2 separate regions of the Homo sapiens genome follow, and region 1 is linked to region 2. Evidence: promoter capture Hi-C in human tissues and cell types (Jung and others, 2019). All regions are on one chromosome and are shown on one strand. Each heading gives the region's core, a stretch centred on a gene start or on the middle of the fragment in contact. The rest is flanking DNA. Distances are from core to core; before and after follow the strand shown.

Region 1 (7,212 bases), core at 432-2,931, 190 kb after region 2:
GTCTCCCACTTAACAAAAGAAACAGGTAGACGTAAACATAAAATTATGGAAAAATGGATTCACCGTCAACAATTATTTCAGAAGTTATTCAAATGGTGCAAGTCAGCAGTTTCTGAACTCCATCAAAAAGGGGGAATTACCTTCAGAATTACAGGGAATTTTTGATAAAGAGGTGGGTGTTAAAGTTGAAGACAAGAAAAATGAAACATATATGTCTACGAAGCCTGTCTTCCAGCTCTTTTCAGGACAGGGTCACCAAGTAGGAAGGGTAAGCCATATCAAAGACTTCATTGAAAACTACCAAGGATCTCAAAAGAAGTCCTCCCCTGTCCCTGGCAACAGTTTGTCCTATCCTCAGATTGTTAGATGAGACACTCACACTGGAAGAAGCAGATTTACAGAGTTTTGTTGTCAGAGACTCCAAAAAACTGCTGCACCATTGATTTTTGATAGACTAAGTGGAAAATCTGCAGAGAAATGATGGTTGTAAGCAGACATGCAAACCAAATTGGGGACTGGGTAAGTCAGATTCACTGGACTTTTGGTTCGGGTACTATTGAACTCTCTCCTGATGAAATGTTTAGATAAGTGCAAGTTAGAAAAGTAGCATATGACTGGAAACTATATTCTGTGCACTTTTTCCAAAAGGCTACTCAGAGAAATATATTTATTTCAAATACTAATTATCAAGATATATTAAATAGCTGTATTATTTAGAATCTTAATATAGTATAAATTGGCAAATATGTTCACAATATTATTTGTTCAAATACCATTCCCAAACAGGGATTTATTTAAATGTTAGCTGTCTCAGAGTTATTAAATGGCTAATACATTGAAAAATTATACATGGCAGGTTTAAAAGCATCAATGTAATTATTTTACAACTTAGATGCAAAGCTGGAGAGAGCTGTTTTTACCACAGCTATGCCTATACCTCAAAGTGTCCTTAGTTATCACTCTGTAATGGCAACATATATTTGAATATTAATTTGGTAGCTGGGCGTGATGGCTCATGCCTGTAATCCCAACACTCTGGGAGGCCGAGGTGGGTGGATCACCTGAGGTCAGGAATTCAAGACCAGCCTGGCCAACATGGCGAAACCTCGTCTCTACTAAAAATACAAAAATTAGCTGGGGGTGGAGGCGGGTGCCTGTAATCCCAGCTACTCGGGAGGCTGAGGCAGGAGAATCACTTAAACCTGGGAGGTGGAAGTTGCAGTGAGCCAAGATGGCACCACTGCACTCCAGCCTGGGCAGCAAGAGCAAAACTCCATCTCAAGAAAACAAAAAACAAATATGAATCTGGCGATGATATCAAAGATCTATTTTCATTTAAGAATAAAATTGTGGCCAGGTTCAGTGGCTCACGCCTGTAATCCCAACACTTTGGGAGGCCAAGATGGGAGGATCGCTTGAAGCCAGGAGTTCAAGACTGGTCAACATAGTGAGACCCCAATCTCTATTTTAATTTAAAAAATAAAAAAATAAAATTATGTAGCTTATTATAATGTTAATATATTCTAAGTATAATGTTAATATAAATCTTCCAGAACAAATTAACAAGGGTGCAGCATACAAGATGAATATATGTAAAAAAACTGTGTTCCTCTATAGTAGTAGTGAACTAGCAGAGAAATTGAAATTTTTAAAATACCATTTGCAATAGTGTCAGAGAAAAAATGCCTAGGAAGACCCAAACACCGAAAAACACAAATACTACTGAGAAAAAAATTATAAATCCTAAATAAGTGGAGAGATATATTATGTTCATGGGTTGAAATGCTCAATATTGTGAAGACATCAATTATTCTGCAGATTCAACACAATGATAATCAAAATCTTAGTGAATTACTTTGGGGGTGTGGGGTGGTGCTGGTAGAAATTGACAACCTGATTCTAAACTTTATATGGAAATACGAAAGTCCTGTAACAGCTGTAAGTCAACAAGGTACAGCCACATCAAGACCAAATGTGGCTCACAGCCTATAACTGTATAGGTTGAATGGAATGTGAGAACTATTTTTATATTTTAAAAGGTCTGTAATAGAAAAAATAATATGCAACAGAAACTATATATAGCATGTAAAGCTTAAAATCTCTACAATCTGGTCTTTTATAAAAAACTTTGCCAACCTCTGACCTAAAATAGTAAAGACAACTCTGAAAAGAAAAAGCTGGAAGACTAAACTCTATCGGACTTCAAAAGTTATGAAGTTGTCAAGAGAGGGTAGTCTTGGAATAAAAGATAAGTAGCTATATGGAACAGAACAGTTGAGAAGCAGACACACGTATAAAGACAACCAATATTTCAAGAAAGAAGCAAAGGCAATTAAGTGGAGAAAGGATAGTCTTTTCAATAAATGATGCTAGAACAATGAGATACAAAGAAAAAAAAAACCCCAAATTTTGATCCAATCTTTGTGCCATATAAAGATTTTAACTCAAAGTGCACCATGTACTTGTACCACAAGTACAACATATTAAATATATTGTAATACAGATACTCCTCAACTTATGACAGGGCTATGTCCTGACAAACCTATTGTAAGTTGAAACTATCATAAGTTGACAATTTGTAACCCCATCATAAATTGAGAAACATATTGAATGCATAATATGTTTGCACCATTGTAAATTAAAAACAATACTAAGTCAAACTCCATAAATTGGGAAGTGTATTTATGTTACCTCTGTTAAAATGAAATGTTTTATTATATATTTAAATGTACATTATATTAAATATAAAGTATTAATATCAAATACACTAATAGGTTTAATATTAAATATATTACAAATTTTAAACTCTCAAAATTCAATAAATATTGCAAAACCACATGATCGTGCCACGCACTTCAGCCTGGGAGACAGAGTAAAACCCTGTCTCTATATAAAAAAAAATAAAAATAAATAAAAAATAAAGCCAATATAAACAGGCAAAAGATTTGAACAGACTCTTCCCCAAAGGCTTAAAGAAGGCCAGTAAGCACGTGAAACCATGTAAGACATCATTAGTCACTAGGGAAATGCAAATTAAAACCATGAGATACTACTACACACCTATTAAAATGGTCAAAATAAAAAAGACTGACCATACCAATAATTGGCAAGGATGCAGAAGAATTGCAACTCTTATATACTGCTCATGGAAATGTCAAATGGCATAACTACTTGAGAAAGGTTTAGCAGTCTCTTAAAAACTTAAACGTACACTAACATATGATCTGATCATTCCACTCTTAACTATTTAAAGAAACAGAAGCACATGTTTAAAGAATAATCTGCATATGGGTATTCAAGGCAGTTTTAATTGCAATAGCCAAAAGGTAGAAATAACACATGGATAAATAGCTTGTGGTATGCCTTGCAATGGAATACTATTCAGCAGTGAAATGGACCCTACAACATAAATGGATCTGAAAAAATTATCCTGAAAGATGCCAGACTATATGATTCCATTTATATAAAAACTGTACATAATATAAAGTCGTCTATTCTAAGAGAAAGCAAATCAGTGGATCAGGAGAGTGACAGGCAGGGAAGGGTGAGGAGAAGAAGAAATTATAAAAGGGCATGAGGAAACCATCTGGTTTGATAGGTATGTTCATTATCTTGATGGTGTGTATGTACACATATGTGTATGTGTCCAAACTTAAAGTGTATGCTAAAAACATGTGCAGTTTATTACATGGCAATTATATCTCAAACTTACTGAAAGAACCTGCCTCAATAATTCAAACCAAAGATTCTCAGCAACAGTGAAAAAAGATCATTAAATGTACACTTCACCAAAGACTCATAAGCATATGAAAGTGATGTTCAATATCATTAGTCTTTAAAGACATATAGAAAGGCAAACTTAAATAATTTATTTGGTTTTCTTTGCTGGCGTCAATTTTCTTTTTTTTTTGAGACAGGGTCTCATCCTGTTGCCCAGGCTAGAGTGTAGTGGCACGATCAGGGCTCACTGCAACCTCTGCCTCCCTGACCAGGCTCAAGCAATCCTCTTGCCCCAGCCTCCTAAATAGCTGGGACTATAGGCACAAACCAGTACACCCAGTTAATCTTATTTATTCTTTGTCAAGATGAGGTTTCACTATATTGCCCAGGCTGGTCTTGAACTCCTGGGCTCAAGTGATCCTTCTGCCTTGGCCTCCCAAATTGCTGGAATTAAGGTGTGAGCCAGCATGCCTGGCCAGTACCAATTTTCTTGTGTGCAATAAGTGAAAATTTGTACCCCTAAATGTTCCTCAATTCCCTATAACTAAGTTTTTCATTAAAAAACCCTCTGAGGATATTTTAATTTTTTTTTCTTTTTTTGAGATGGTCTTACCATATCATCCAGGCTGGAGTGCAGTGGCGTGATCTGAGCTCACTGCAGCTTCCGCCTCCCGGGTTCAAGCAATTCTGCCTCAACCTCTCGAGTAGCTGGGATTACAGGCACGTACCACCATGCCTGGCTAATTTTTGTATTTTTAGTAGAGATGGGGTTTCACCACGTTGGCCAGGCTGGTCTCGAACTCCTGACCTCAAATGATCCACTCGCTTCGGCCTTTCAAAGTGCTGGGATTACAGGAATGAGCCACTGCACCCAGCCTAAAATTGTTTTAAAGACTAGGGAAGTGTAGTAGTGACAAATGGGGGAAAGAGTGGAACTCCTCAATAATAAAGAGTTCCATCTGTAACCGTGAACAATTGAGATAACTCAGGATCTTCAGACCAGCTAGATATTTTTATTAATGATATATAACCTCTTTAAAACATGTATATTTACCAAAAGCATTCTGATATGGCATTCCTCTAGTGTGACTTTTTGCATGTAAATTAATACAGCCTTTTTGACCTTCCATACAGTCAGGTTCCTCTTCAGTGTGGATGTTTCCTAACGACCAAGTTCAAGGGCTTTCCAACATCTCTTTCACTCATGGGACTTCTCAATGTGTGCTTTGACATGTTCCCAAAGTGGAAGCTAAAAACAAAGAAGAATCTCCACACATTTTACATTCATAAGATTTTTCACACTTGTGAGATCACAGCTGAATATTAAGGTATAAGGCAGAGTGAAAGGTTTCAACACATTCCTTACAGCCAGAGGACGTGCATTTATATCCAATGTGCTCACAAGCTCAGTAAGGCCCGAGGAAAATAATGAAAGCTTTTCCACCTTCCTCACATTCATAGCATTTCTCTCCAGCATGAGTTCAAACAGACTCAGTAAGATGTAAGCATCGACAGGTTTCCTACGTTCAGTTTGTTTCCTAGGATGCACAGACACATGAATAGTAAGGCCTATGGAAGGAGCCAAGATTTTCCCACATTCCTTACATTCATATGTCTTCTCTTCTATTGGAATTGTTAAGATCTGAGACACCAAGGAAGGCTTCCCACATTCCTTATGACTGTGTACATTGCCACTATGAATGAGTACATGTTCAGTAAGTGTGAGGAAGTAGTGGCTTTACCACATTCTTTCCAAGTATCAGCCCCAATTCACACACATTCAGTAAGGCATGAGGAATTACTAAAGGTTTGCCCACATTCCTTATATGGTTTCTCCACACTATGACTTCTTAGATGTCGAATAAGATATGTGGACCGAGTAAAGGCTTTCCCACATTCCTGACATTCAAAGGGCCGTTCACCAGTGTGAGTTCTCATGTGTACTGTAAGGCCTGATGAGATACTGAAGGCTTGCCCACACTTTTGACATTTATATGGCCTCTCCCCTGTATGTATTCTTTTATGTTGACTAAGGTGCGAGGAGTATCTAAAGGCTTTCCCACATTCCTCACATTCAAAAGGCCTTTCTGCACTGTGACTTCTCAAATGTCGAATAAGAAATGAGGATCGAATGAAGGCTTTCCCACACTGTTGACAGTCATAGGGTTTTACACCAGGATGAGTCTGCATGTGACTTTTAAAGGAAGAGGAATTAATAAAGGCTTTTCCACATTCCTTACATTGATAAGGCTTCTCACCAGTGTGAGTTCTCATATGTACAGTAAGATGTGAAGAGTTAGCAAAAGCTTTCCCACATTCCTTACATTCATAAGGCTTTTCTCCAGTGTGAGTTCGCCTGTGTTTTATAAGACCTGATGAATCAGTGAAGGCTTTCCCACATTTGTTGCACTCATACGGTTTTTCTCCAGTGTGAACCCTTATGTGAATGTTGAGTTTTGAGAAACAAGTAAATTCTTTGCCACATTCATTACAAACATAGTGTTTTCCTCTAGTTCTAAGTCTTATATGTTTAGCAAGATCTGGGGAAAAAGCAAAGGCTTTGCCAAATTTCTTATGTTCTATAGGTAACACTCTACTATGAGTTCTTAAATGTTGAGTAAGATATGACGACTCAGTGAAGGGTTTCCCACATGCTTTACATTCATAGAATTTTTCTCCATCTTGAGTTTGCATGTGTACAAAAAGGGCTGTAGAATGAGAAAAGGTTTCGACATACTCCTTATGAGTATATGGTCTCTCTCCACCATAAATTCTTACACATTCTCTGAGGTGTGAGGAGGAAGGTAAGCCTTTTTCACAGTCACTGCATTTATATGGTTTCTCTTGAGTGTGAGTTTTCTTGCAAACAAGATGTAGATTTTGGCTAGTTTTCTTGCAAACAAGATGTAGATGTTGGCTGAAGGCTGTTTCACATTGATTACAGTTAGGAAGTTCCTCTCCGATATCAGTTTTCTTGTGTAAAGTAAAGATAGAGGGTTTTCTGAAGGCTTTTTCACATTGATTACACTCACAGGTTTTCTTTCTAAAGTAAGTTCTCCTGTGAGTCTTAAGGCATGAGTGTTCACTCAAGGCTTTTTCACATTGGTTAAAGTCAAACAGTTCCTCTCCAAAATGGTTTCTCTCCTGTTGGTGAAAATTAATGATGGTTCATAGAAGTTTTCCAAATTTATTTCATTGAGATTCTCCCTTTTACTCTGAATTCTGTTACACATGGAAAATAAGTTAGTATAATTGAAACTGTTTGTTCCTGCCATTTTCATTGCAAGGCATGGTTCAGACCTGAGTGTTTTCAAGTGGAACAAAGTGACTGCAGGAAGTTCTGTTATATTCTTTACTTTCAGAGGGCTTCTAAATAGAGCTTAGCTGATAACGGCCCAAGAGTGAATTATTTATCAAAAACATCTGAGATACATATGGGAATGTTGAAGGAAATATGTAAACAAATATATTCTGAGGGATGTTTAGAGTGTT
Region 2 (6,355 bases), core at 3,739-6,238:
CTGAAGTAACGGGGGCTGTCCCTGAAGCCTTGCAGCAGTACAGCCCAGGTAAGTTGCTGAGACTGACGGGTGTCAGGGTCAGTCCAAGTTAAAGTGAAGAGAGGCTGGGATTAAGGGTGTAAAGGAATAGTAAAGAAAGCATCTTTGAGATCCAGAACAGAATAATGGGTTGAGGAGGGAGGTATTGAGGATAGGAGAGTATATGGGTTTGGCACCATGGGGTGGATAGGCAAGACAATTTGGTTGATAAGGCAAAGATCCTGGACCAGCCTGTAAGACTTGTCCAGTTTTTGGACAGGTAGGATAGGAGAGTTGTAAGGAGAGTTTGTAGGCTTTAAAAGGTCATGCTGTAACAGGGAAGTGATAACAGGCTTTAGTCCCCTCAAATCCTGTTGTGGGATGGGATATTGGCATTGAGCAGGGTAAGGGTGATTAGGTTTTACCCCCAAGGGATGATAAGGGGTGCATGATCAGTTGCTAAGGAGGGAGTAGAGGTATCCCATACTTGTGGATTAAGGTAGTGAGACACAAGGGGAGGAGGCAAAGGAGGCTTTGAACTGGGGAAAAGGGTGGCAATGAGGTGTGGCTATAGCCCAGGAATAGTGAGGGAAGCAGAGAATTTAGTTAAAATGTCTTGACCTAATAAGGGAGCTGGGCAGGTGGGGATAACTAAAAAGAGTGCATAAAAGAAAGTTGTTCAAGTTGGCACCAGAGTTGGGGATTTTTAAGAGGTTTAGAAGCCTGGCCATCAATACCCACGGCAGTTATGAAGGCAAGGGAAACAGGCCCTTGAAAAGAAGGTAATGTGGAGTGGGTAGCCTCTGTATTGATTAAGAAGGGGACAGACTTGCCCTCCACTGTAAGAGTTACCCAAAGCATCTGTGATAGTCCAGGAGGCTCCCGAGGTGATCGGGCAGTGTCAGTCTTCAGCTGCTAAGCCGAGAAGATCTGGGAAGGAGTCAGTCAGACAGCCTTGGGCCAGAGTTCCAGTGGCTCTGGTAGTGGCTGCCAGGTGAGTTGGACAGTCCGATTTCAAGTGGGGTCCCACAGATGGGACATGGCTTAGGAGGAATCCTGGGCTGCGGGCATTCCTTGGCCCAGTGGCCAGATTTCCAGCACTTAAAGCAAGAACCTGAGGGAGGAGGTCCTGGAGGAACACCTGGCCTCTGTGGTTTAGGCATTTTGAAGTTCTTATGTGCTGGAGATGTGGCTGGGGTTTATCTCACAGCAGAGGCAAGTAATTGCAACTCAGAAATACAACGCCACTTGGCTGCCTCTTCTCTATTATTGTACACCTTCAAGGTGAGGTTAATTAAGTCCTGTTGTGGGGGTTGAGGGTCAGAATCTAATTTTTGGAGCTTTTTCTAGTCTTGGGAGCAGATTGGGTAATAAAATGCATATTGAGAATAAAATGCATATTGAGAATAAGATGGCCTTCTGGCCTCTCTGGTTCTAGGGTGGTAAACTGTCTAAGGGTTGTTGCCAAACAGGCCATGAACTGGGCCGGGTTTTTATACTTGATGAAAAAGAGCCTAAATGCTAACTGACTTGGGAGAGGTTGGATGAAGAAAAAGGAGCATTAACCTCGACTATGCCTTCAGCTCCAGCCACTTCTCTAAGAGGATATTGTTGGGCAGGTGGGGGAGGGCTAGTCATGGAATGAAACTGTAAGCTGGACCGGGTGTGAGAAGGGGAGGTGATAGAAAGATCACAGGGTAGGGAGCAGAGGCTGAGGAAGAATTAGTGAGAGGTGACAGCGTGCTGGCAGTCCTCACAGCCCTCGCTCACTCTTGGCGCCTCCTCTGCCTGAGCTTCCACTTTGGCGGCACTTGAGGAGCCCTTCAGCCCACTGCTGCACTGTGGGAGCCCCTTTCTGGGCTGGCCAAGGCTGGAGCCAGCTCCCTCAGCTTGCAGGGAGGTGTGGAGGGAGAGGCGCGAGCGGGAACTGGGGCTGTGCATGGTGCTTGCGGGCCAGCTGGAGTTCCAGGTGGGCGTGGGCTTGGCGGCTGCACTCGAAGCAGCTGGCCGGCCCTGCTGGCCCCAGGCAATGAGGGGCTTAGCACCCAGGCCAGCAGCTGCACAGGGTGTACTGGGTCCCCTAGCAGTGCCAGCCCACTGGTGCTGCGCTTGATTTCTCGCCAGGCCTTAGCTGCCTTCCCACAGGGCAGGGCTCAAGACTGGCAGCCCGCCATGCCTGAGCCTCCCACCCCCTCCATGGGCTCCTGTGCAGCTCGAGCCTCCCTGATGAGAGCTCCCCCCTGCTCCATGGTGCCCAGTCCCATCAACCACCCAAGGGCTGAGGAGTGCGGGCACATGGCGCGGGACTGGCAGGCAGCTCCACCTGCAGCCCCAGTGCGGGATCCACTGGGTGAAGCCAGCTGGGCTCCTGAGTCTGGTGGGGATGTGGAGAACCTTTATGTCTAGCTCAGGGATTGTGGAAACACCAATTGGCACTCTGTATCTAGCTCAAGGTTTGTAAACACACCAATCAGCACCCTGTCAAAACAGACCACTCGGCTCTACCAATCAGCAGGATGTGGGTAGGGCCAGATAAGAGAATAAAAGCAGGCTACTGAGCCAGCAGTGGCAACCCCCTTGGGTCCCCTTCCACGCTGTGGAAGCTTTGTTCTTTTGCTCTTTGCAATAAATCTTGCTACTGCTTACTCTTTGGGTCCATGCTGCCTTTAAGAGCTGTAACACTCACCGCAAAGGTCTGTAGCTTCACTCCTGAGCCAGCGAGACCACAAACCCACCAGAAGGAAGAAACTCTGAACACATCCGAACATCAGAAGGAACAAACTCCAGACACGCCGCCTTTAAGAACTGTAACACTCACCGCGAGGGTCCACGGCTTCATTCTTGAAGTCAGTGAGACCAAGAACCCACCAATTCTGGATACGTTAGGACCTGGCTCAGCTTGGCGAGGAGCAGCCTGAGGGGGAGGGGAGAGGTCAGATGGGTCCATAGAAAAGGAGGATTCAAAGGACAAGAAAGAAACAAGAAAGATTTGGGATGAGTCACATTGGGAGCAAAGACTAGGGACGGACCAATGTGTAAAGAATGCCTGGATGTCAGGCATCTCAGACCATTTGCCCATTTTATGACAAAAATTATCTAGATCTTGTAGGATGGAGAAATCAAAAGTGCCATTTTCTGGCCATTTAGAACCATTGTCAAGTTTGTACTGGGGCCAAGTGGTGTTGCAGAAGAAAATAAGGTATTTAGGTTTTAGGTCAGGTGTGAGTTGAATAGGTTTTAAGTTCTTGAGAACACAGGCTAAGGGAGAAGAACAGGGAATGGAGGGCAGAAGATTGCCCATAGTGAAGGAGGTAAGTTTAAAGAGAAAGGTAGAGACATGGAGAAGGCAGTGGAGTGGGGTGGGGGTGAGCAGCCCTGGGCTGTAATGTGGGTAAGCAGCCAAAGCAGGCAGCCCTGCAATTGACTTGCCACCAAGGGAATGTGGGTGAATGATCAAGGCAGGCATCCCCACAGTGATCAGACACCAATGGAATGTAGGTGAATAATCAGGCAGGTATCCCTACAGTGATTAGCCACCAAGGAAAGACTGTCTTCCTGAGTCCGTGACTGGAGCTGGAGTTTTGGGTCCACAGATAAAATGTGTCTCCTTTGTCTCTACTGGAGAGGAAAAAGAACTGGAATTGGAAGGACAGAGAGATGGAAGGGTAGTGAGAGAGGCTGGAGAAGAGAGTGAAGAGACTGCTTACCCAATTTGAAATTGGTGAGATGTTCCTTGGGCTAGTCTGAGGACCCGAGGTAGTAGGTGGAGCTCCTCACGGAGTGAGGGTGAGGACGGGGCCAGTCTCCCAAGGGAGTCCCCCTGTCCCAGGTTTCGGAACCAAATGTTACACACATCCATGTGAAGAGACCACCAATAGGCTTTGTGTTAGCAACAAGGCTGTTTATTCACTTGGGTGCAAGTGGGCTGAGTCCGAGAAAGGGGTCAGCAAAGGGAGATAGGGGTGGGGCAGTTTTATAGGATTTGGGTAGGTAGTGGAAAGTTAAAGGTGGTTATCTTTTGCTGGCAGGGCCGGGGGTCACAAGGTGCTCGGTGGGGAACTCCTGAGACTCGTCCAGAAGAAGAATGTCACAAGGTCAAGAGATCAGTTGGGGTGGGGCAGCAACAAATCACAATGGTGGAACGTCATCAGTTAAGGCAGGAACTGGCTGTTTCACTTCTTTTGTGGTTCTTCAGTTGCTCCAGGCCATCTGGATGTATACGTGCAGGTGACAGGGTTTATGATGATTTAACTTGGGCTCAGAGGCCTGACAAGTAGTTCAAGACCAGCCTGGCCAGCATGGCAAAACCCTGCCTCTACTAAAAATACAAAAATTAGCAGGGTGTGGCAGCATGCACCTGTAATTCCAGCTACTTGGGAGGATGAGGCAGGAGAATCGCTTGAACCTGGGAGGTGGAGGTTGCAGTGAGCTGAGATGGCTCCACTGAACTCCAGCCTTGGTGACAGAGTGAGATTTTGTCTCAAAAAAAAAGAAAAGATGTTTTAAAGCAAGGCAGAAAACCTAGAAATTATTTTTAAAAACAATTCTTTTAGCTGCATAGAAAATGTTTTTTACATCAAATGTTGAAATAGTAACAGAGCAAAAGACGTAGTTACCTATTTTCTACATGCATAACACATTGGCTCCTTCCCCTATGGCCGCCCTGCTGCGGCCTCGCCCACAGGCCTGGCTATAACTTCAACCTTTTCCTCTGGGCCTGGACCCACATTCCTCCCCGCCCCCTGCCCGTAGCCCTGCCCACAGGCTTGGCTCTAACCTCGACCTTGCCTTCTGGACCCATTTCTGCCTGCAGCCCCCACGCTGAGCCCACCCCAAGGTCCTCCGCAGCCAAGCAGATGGAAAGTAGAATTTTTCTGCCTCGAGGAGGTATTACACGGCAGAAACCCTAGTCCCGAAACCCCGCCTGGCCCGAGGCGGAGAGCGTAAATGACGTCAGCGGTGCGCCGTTCCTTTTGTGACGCCGGCTGTGAGCGCCTGAGAGTCTTTTTGCCTTTCAGAGTTAAGGCCTCACTGGCCTGGGTGAGTTCCGAGGAGATGAACTGGTTTTGGGGTGAAGGACGGGTTTGGCCCGGACGTTAGAGAGGCCTGGCCCGCTCTGCTCGTGTCTGCTGGGCCCGCTAGCGTCCGCTCGGACCGTCGCTCCTCGGGAGGAGTCGGGTTTATAGTTACGGTGTCCGCAGGGTGTTTTCATCTGTGCGCCCCTCTCCAAAGGCCTCCAAAGCAGCGTTTGTGAATTTTTTTCCGGCAGGAAAATAATTGCTGCCTTTTGCATCCGCGTTGGCTCCGTCCCCAGGATCTTCCCGGTTCAGGGACCTGGCGATTTCTGAGTGTTCCGGTGAGCACTGGGTGAAAGTTGGTTCTAGGGGGCCTTTTCTGTCTTCTCTTATGCAAACGAATGTTTCATCTGTAAGTTTGGTTTCGTCTTATTGTGTTGTGTTTTATTTTTGACCATTACTTTCATGGCGAAAGATAAAGATGCTTTTTAGGTTTATAGGGTGTGCGTATTTGTGTATGTGAATATAAACGTTTGTAGACCGCAAGTCTTTCTGCTAAAGAATACTAAGAATAATAATTCATTATCTTCGAATGGAGTTCCTAGGCCTGTACATCCCAAGAGAGCTTCTTAATCAGACCTCCAGAGGGAAAGGATGAAGGCTTTATTATTCTAGTATCACAATAATCAAATTTACAATGAACAGGATGGTTGGATTAAGGAGTTTGAAACCAGCCTGGCTAAGATGGTGAAACCCCGTCTCTACTAAAAATAGAAAAAAAATTAGCCGAGCGTGGTGGTGGGGTCTTGGAATCTCAGCTATTTGGGAGACTAAGGCAGGAGAATCACTTGAACCCAGGAGGCGGACGTTGCAGTGAGCTGAGATCGTGCCACTGCACTCCAGCCTGGGAGACAGAGTGAGCCTCCGTCTCAAAAGAAAAAAAAGAGAAACGAAGGATGTGTGCATTTTAAGCTACATTGATTGTATATCAATGAAAAAAAAAAAAAGCTGGCTGGGTACAGTGGCTCACACCTGTGATCCCAGCACTTTGAGAGGCTGAGGCAGGAAGATCTCTTGAGCCCAGGAGTTTAAGACCAGCCTGGGCAACATAGCAAGACTCCATCTCTCCAAAAAAAAAAAAAAAAAAAGAGTTAAATATTCTATACAGATGCCACCAAACTGAATATTTGTGGGCCTAGTCAGCCCTAGGACCCCTAGTTTGAGACCCCTGGGAGTAGGTGTGATCTATACCAGGAGTCCAGAACTGTGGTTTTTGTGACTTTAGGGTTTTAGTCTTATTGGTAGAAGGAGGCCTATAGAGT

What was found. The method cuts DNA at HindIII sites, captures the fragments that hold promoters and counts their contacts. A contact is called where the count stands out against the background at its distance.
Region 1: a contact is called between a fragment that was not itself captured here and the fragment with the promoter of ZNF426 in region 2, in 1 of the 25 tissues and cell types used here (adrenal gland).

What each region holds. Positions count from the first base shown.
Region 1 is chr19:9,341,347-9,348,558 of GRCh38, reverse strand. ZNF559 (zinc finger protein 559) reads right to left here. Exons shown (of 7, transcript NM_032497.3): 7 at 2,688-6,864. The coding sequence ends at 5,491. The region is part of intron 6 of ZNF559-ZNF177 (ZNF559-ZNF177 readthrough); the gene reads right to left. It also overlaps the pseudogene UBXN2AP1. Among named protein-coding and RNA genes, the nearest start is that of ZNF177, 18 kb to the left of the region's middle. The HindIII fragment of the contact is 7,820 bases long and covers 1-5,591 here.
Region 2 is chr19:9,537,278-9,543,632 of GRCh38, reverse strand. It overlaps ZNF426 (zinc finger protein 426), which reads left to right and starts at 4,988. Exons shown (of 8, transcript NM_024106.3): 1 at 4,988-5,058; 2 at 5,288-5,374. ZNF426-DT (ZNF426 divergent transcript) reads right to left here and starts at 4,967. Exons shown (of 2, transcript NR_134921.1): 1 at 4,635-4,967; 2 at 3,903-4,227. RefSeq lists enhancers at 2,767-3,966, 4,621-4,690, 4,891-4,940, 4,947-5,682. The HindIII fragment of the contact is 15,089 bases long and covers 667-6,355 here.